2 separate regions of the Homo sapiens genome follow, and region 1 is linked to region 2. The links are contacts of gene promoters, found by promoter capture Hi-C in blood cells and fetal thymus (Javierre and others, 2016). All regions are on one chromosome and are shown on one strand. The core of a region is centred on a gene start or on the middle of the fragment in contact, and the rest is flanking DNA. Distances in the headings are between cores, read along the strand shown.

Region 1 (3,329 bases), core at 513-3,012, 420 kb after region 2:
GGAGATAGAGGTTGTAGTGAGCCAGGATCGCACCACTGCACTCCAGCCTGGGCGACAGAGTGAGCTGTCTCAAAACAAAACAAAACAAAACAAAACAACACAGAAAAACAACTCACAATATTGCTCTTATTTTTCTCATTTTGGTGGAGGTGGAGTGGGGGAACTTAAGAAGATATCAGGAACTCATGCTTGGAAATGATTGCTCTGCCATCTCACAGGACAATAACACAGCAAGCTTTCCTTATTTAAGAGCACTTTAAAACTTAAATGAGTTTTCTTGAGGAAATACTTATTTTGCACAAATTAACAGGAAATTCTTCATTTTCTGAATTATAACCAGTACTGTTAGTACATTATCATAAGTAGATAACAGATCTCACTAGCTAAATCCACAATTTGGATAGTCATGTTAGTGTGATTTGCAAACTTTGGTTACATACGTCGTTGGAGGATCCAAAACTATTGACACAATTGGTGGGTCAGTGATGAAGAATTAGTTACTGGGGTTGAAAAACTTTCCTTGCATAGCGTGTTCCCAGGCTTGCCTTGATCCAGTGTTACATACCAGTGACTGGCATGCTGCAGTGAAGTGGAGAGCAAAATGTGTTCTGGATTCCTCTCCAAAATAAGCTATCCACATTCTCATGTTGTGAGGCCACTAAGAAGAGCCTGTTGGGTGACACATTCAGTTTCTCCCCGACCAATCCTGGCTGGCAAGGTGCAGACACAGTGTGTCCCACAGATCCGAGGCACCAGCTAGCAACTGGGCGTCTTCGACAAGTTCTCAGAGAGGCTGTCTGAATGTTCTCAATAGCTCCTTTCTATAGCTGCCAATGAAATTACTAGGATCTACACAAGACATATTGAGTGAATCAAGTTATTTTCATAATCAATGTTTTGGACTAAAATGTATCAGAGTGATACGGAATATTCAAGGCATTTTACCCTTGACATTTGTTTCTACACATGTGTCATAACTTTTGAGATAGTGAGAAGGCTTTTCTACTTGTTTAGCAGTGGAAAACATTTCCACCCCTCTTTGGCTTCTTACAATAGTTTTGTGGAAATTAAAACAAAGAGAGCAAAAACATTTTGAATTAAATGCTAGGAAATGTTGGATACAGGCAACTCAATGCCTGAAAAATAAGGAGGTGAATTTATTTCTTTGGCCACATTTTATGTACAATTGAAAGTCGTATATGCATTGTTAAAATTTATAAAGATATCCATCGATATGGTTTGGCTCTGTGTCTCCACCTAAATCTCATGTTGAATTGTAATCCCTAATGTTAGGGGAGGGACCTGGTGGGAGGTGATTGGATCATGGGGGCAGATTTTCCCCTTGCAATACTCGTGATAGTGAGTGAGTTCTCATCAGATCTGATGGTTTAAAAGTGTGTGACACTTCCCCCTTCGCTCTCTCCTTCTCTCCTGCTCTGCCATGGTAAGACATGCTTGCTTCCCCTTCACCTTCTGTCATGATTGTAAGTTTCCTGAGGCCTCCCAGCCATGCTTCCTGTACAGCCTGCAGAACTGTAAGTCAATTAAACCTCTTTTCTTTGTAAATTACCCAGTCTTAGGTAGCTCTTTATAGCAGTGTGAAAACGGATTAATACACCCATGAATACATTTAACTTAAAGTCAGACTTGTGATATTTAAGAGTAAGTGCATTTCCTGGTTCAAATAAACCAACTCTAAAGGGCTTCTTTAGGACAGTAGAGGAACGTTAAATATTATCTAAAAATTAAATGCTAATAAGGAATAATTGTTACTTTCATAAGGTATGATAATAAAATTGTGGGTTATAGTAAAATACCCTGGTTTTTCAGGGATGCATTTTGAAATATTTGGGGGTGAAATATCATGGTTTCCATAATGTTTTAAAATACTTTAGATTTATGAAACAAATATGCCACAATAATAATTTTTTATGAGACAGGGTCTCACTCTGTTGCCCAGATTGCAGTACAGTGGGGCAAACATGGTTCGCTGCAGCCTCAACCTCCCAGGCTCAAGTGATCCTCCCACTTCAGCCTCACAAGTAGCTCAGGTATGTGCCACCACACCTGGATAATTTTTAAATTTTTCGTAGAGACACAGTCTTGCCATGGTGCTCAGGTTGGTCTTAAATTCCTGGGCTCAAGCAATCCTCCCACCTTGGCCTCCCAAAGTGCTGGGATTATAGGTATGAGTCACTACACTTGACCAACAATTATTTTTTAAAGGTGATATGTATGTATTTATTATGCTAGTCCCTCTTCTTTTCTATATGTTTAACATTTTTCATAATAAAAGTGAAAACAAAAGAAGGATACATATATTGTATGCTTGTGTTTTCCTTTCGGGGAATATAATAGAGGGAAGTTAACAGATCTTGAATTATACTTTACAAAATTGATGCTAATCTTGAAAGAAACATCTACTTTGGTTTCCTATAAGCCTTCCTTCCCTTCTGAAAGGCTCTCTTTCTAATTTTGATTCAATCCTACTTATGTCCTTAACTACTGTCCATAGACACCCTTATAGCAATCAGAATAATTTTGATATTGCTGTGATCTGAACCCAAACAAGCACAAGATTCAAATTTTGTTTTATTTAATTTGATGAGTTTCAAATGTGTGCGCTTTCATTAAGCAGGTGATTTAGAGATCAGATAATGAGGCTGACACAGCCTTCTGAATGAGGAAAAGCACAGCATAATTGAAGTCAGCTAACAGGATTTCCAGCAGGGAATGATTTCCCTGAGTGTGTGATCTGATTTCCTTTGATGTTTGTATTACAGTAATAACATTAATAGCATCCCAAACAACACTTAATGAAATTTTAGACTTGCTATATGTGAGGACTCCCCTGTTATCAAACTTGGCTGTTTCTACACAGTTTCTCTCAGATGTACAATTCAACACGTGGGAAAGCCAGGACAGTAAAGGACACATTTTAGCTTTGGATTCTGGGCCAAATATTCCTGCTTTCTTTATAATTCTGTGTACTACCCCTGCTTAAACTTAGGCAGATGTTGAGGTGAGAAAGTAGATGGCTCAACATTAATTCGGCAGGAGTACAGGACTAATGACTAAGCAAGTCCTATTGATGGTTGGCAGTGACAGTACCTTAATGTACAAGGAATAGTGCATTTTCACACTTTCAGAAAATTGTTTATATCACTTTTAAATGATTTAGAAATACAGTAGTGCTAACATAAGGAATCAAGGACTGCAATTACTACCTGCAATTTTATTAACAGTGAGTCAGTAAAAAAATATTGAACTGTGTCTTTAAAAAGCTTTTCAATGAGTGATTAACACCCAGAGAAAGGTGGGGTGGGAGA
Region 2 (3,216 bases), core at 537-3,036:
AAATATCAAGACTGGAGAACATCAAATACCTCATTGGAAAAGCCCCCACATAGGAAAATGTGTGGGCTTGAATTCTTCCATTCTGGAAGGGTAAAGGCCTGAGTGATGATGCTGGGATTAGACACTGAAACTCTTTAGAGAAGCAAAACAAGTATAATAAAGCTGTACTTTATTATATTAAATAAATAACACACAGACTACCAAATAGCCTGCCCCTTATAACAGCGTTAATGTGATTTTGATCTGAAATGTATAGAGACATTTTGCATTTTTTCGTATAAAAAGTTCATGAGATTTGGCCCTAATCTGACCTTTTCTTCATTTTTTTTTCTACTTGAGGGACTATAATCTTTATTTTTAAATTTGTTTTATATTCTCCGAACATTACCTAACGCATAGAAAACTCTTATTGAACCATTTTTCTCTGTTCTTTGTAAAATATTACATTTGACTGTTCCTTAGACTGCTTTAATCATTCCTGCCTATGCACCCTCCTCAAAATCCAGTTTAAATTAATTGTTCCTTATTCAAGATTCCTTATATCCACCTCCCTTGGGGCAGCAATCACCTATCACCCAGGACTACACTTGTGTATGTACATATCTTCCCTATTACAAATCAGGTTCTTTGAAAAAATACAAATGGTAAGAGAGTGGATTTTTGGAGTCAGAACATTCTCTTTTCAAATCCTTCTTCTGCCCCTTACTGGCAATAAGGGCTGAGTGACCTAGAGCAAATTACTTAACTTCTCTGAGCCTCAGTTTTCTAATCTGCAAAATAGGAGCCATCACTTCACAAGTCTGTAAGACTTATATTAGACTAAGTGCCTGCCTGTACACTGTTCTCTTTTCTCTCTTTCTATATACCTGAAGGCATTATAGGTGCTAGATGTCTGTTTAAAGACCAGACAATATTGTCTTAAAAAAACAAACAAAAACACAGACAATACCATCTTTAAAAAAAAAAAAAAAGTCCAGGTAAGAAATAAATAAGGCCATAGAATGGAAGCTTTACAAGGACTCTCTCTGAGACAGGATCTCCTCAAGTGTCCCCAGGTTAAATTAGAAGTATATATCCGTACAATTGTTCAGCCAGTTTGTGCACTGTACTGAGGATGAATGAACACCTATCCTAAATATCCTAGTCTTCTGACTAAAAACAAGATCATATTTCATAACGATTATTGTTACATTCATAGTGTCCCAGGTGATTTAGAGGATAAATAAAAATCCATTAAAGAGGTAAAGACATAAAAACGAGAAACATGGACTGGTTTACACATAACACATACAAAGTCTATTATAAAACTAGCATCAGTATCCTTGAATGCAAACCTTTTTCTGAGTATTTAACAATCGCACCCTTTAAAAAATGTACAATAGACATTAAGAGACTTAAACAGATATATAATCATTTTAAATTAAAATAGCGTTAAACAGTACCTCAAGCTCAATAAGCATTTTAAGTATTCTAATCTTAGTATTTCTCTAGCTGACATGTAAGAAGCAATCTATCTTATTGTATGCAATTAGCTCATTGTGTGGATAAAAAGGTAAAACCATTCTGAAACAGGAAACCAATACACTTCCTGTTTTATCAACAAATCTAAACATTTATTCTTTTCATCTGTTTACTCTTGCTCTTGTCCACCACAATATGCTATTCACATGTTCAGTGTAGTTTTATGACAAAGAAAATTTTCTGAGTTACTTTTGTATCCCCACCCCCTTAAAGAAAGGAGGAAAAACTGTTTCATACAGAAGGCGTTAATTGCATGAATTAGAGCTATCACCTAAGTGTGGGCTAATGTAACAAAGAGGGATTTCACCTACATCCATTCAGTCAGTCTTTGGGGGTTTAAAGAAATTCCAAAGAGTCATCAGAAGAGGAAAAATGAAGGTAATGTTTTTTCAGACAGGTAAAGTCTTTGAAAATATGTGTAATATGTAAAACATTTTGACACCCCCATAATATTTTTCCAGAATTAACAGTATAAATTGCATCTCTTGTTCAAGAGTTCCCTATCACTCTCTTTAATCACTACTCACAGTAACCTCAACTCCTGCCACAATGTACAGGATGCAACTCCTGTCTTGCATTGCACTAAGTCTTGCACTTGTCACAAACAGTGCACCTACTTCAAGTTCTACAAAGAAAACACAGCTACAACTGGAGCATTTACTGCTGGATTTACAGATGATTTTGAATGGAATTAATGTAAGTATATTTCCTTTCTTACTAAAATTATTACATTTAGTAATCTAGCTGGAGATCATTTCTTAATAACAATGCATTATACTTTCTTAGAATTACAAGAATCCCAAACTCACCAGGATGCTCACATTTAAGTTTTACATGCCCAAGAAGGTAAGTACAATATTTTATGTTCAATTTCTGTTTTAATAAAATTCAAAGTAATATGAAAATTTGCACAGATGGGACTAATAGCAGCTCATCTGAGGTAAAGAGTAACTTTAATTTGTTTTTTTGAAAACCCAAGTTTGATAATGAAGCCTCTATTAAAACAGTTTTACCTATATTTTTAATATATATTTGTGTGTTGGTGGGGGTGGGAAGAAAACATAAAAATAATATTCTCACTTTATCGATAAGACAATTCTAAACAAAAATGTTCATTTATGGTTTCATTTAAAAATGTAAAACTCTAAAATATTTGATTATGTCATTTTAGTATGTAAAATACCAAAATCTATTTCCAAGGAGCCCACTTTTAAAAATCTTTTCTTGTTTTAGGAAAGGTTTCTAAGTGAGAGGCAGCATAACACTAATAGCACAGAGTCTGGGGCCAGATATCTGAAGTGAAATCTCAGCTCTGCCATGTCCTAGCTTTCATGATCTTTGGCAAATTACCTACTCTGTTTGTGATTCAGTTTCATGTCTACTTAAATGAATAACTGTATATACTTAATATGGCTTTGTGAGAATTAGTAAGTAAATGTAAAGCACTCAGAACCGTGTCTGGCATAAGGTAAATACCATACAAGCATTAGCTATTATTAGTAGTATTAAAGATAAAATTTTCACTGAGAAATACAAAGTAAAATTTTGGACTTTATCTTTTTACCAATAGAACTTGAGATTTATAATGCTATATGACTTATTTTCCAAGATTAAAAGCTTCATTAGGTTGTTTTTGGATTCAGATAGAGCATAAGCATAATCATCCAAGCTCCTAGGCTACATTAGGTGTGTAAA

What was found. Contacts are between HindIII fragments. The CHiCAGO score rates a contact against its expected background, and 5 or more counts as called.
Region 1: a contact is called between a fragment that was not itself captured here and the fragment with the promoter of IL2 in region 2, in 1 of 17 cell types (endothelial precursors). The highest score is 5.1, in endothelial precursors.

What each region holds. Positions count from the first base shown.
Region 1 is chr4:122,038,833-122,042,161 of GRCh38, reverse strand. No RefSeq gene overlaps it. Among named protein-coding and RNA genes, the nearest start is that of TRPC3, 88 kb to the right of the region's middle. The HindIII fragment of the contact is 3,049 bases long and covers 238-3,286 here.
Region 2 is chr4:122,455,295-122,458,510 of GRCh38, reverse strand. It overlaps IL2 (interleukin 2), which reads left to right and starts at 1,786. Exons shown (of 4, transcript NM_000586.4): 1 at 1,786-2,217; 2 at 2,308-2,367. The coding sequence starts at 2,071. The HindIII fragment of the contact is 2,130 bases long and covers 1,011-3,140 here.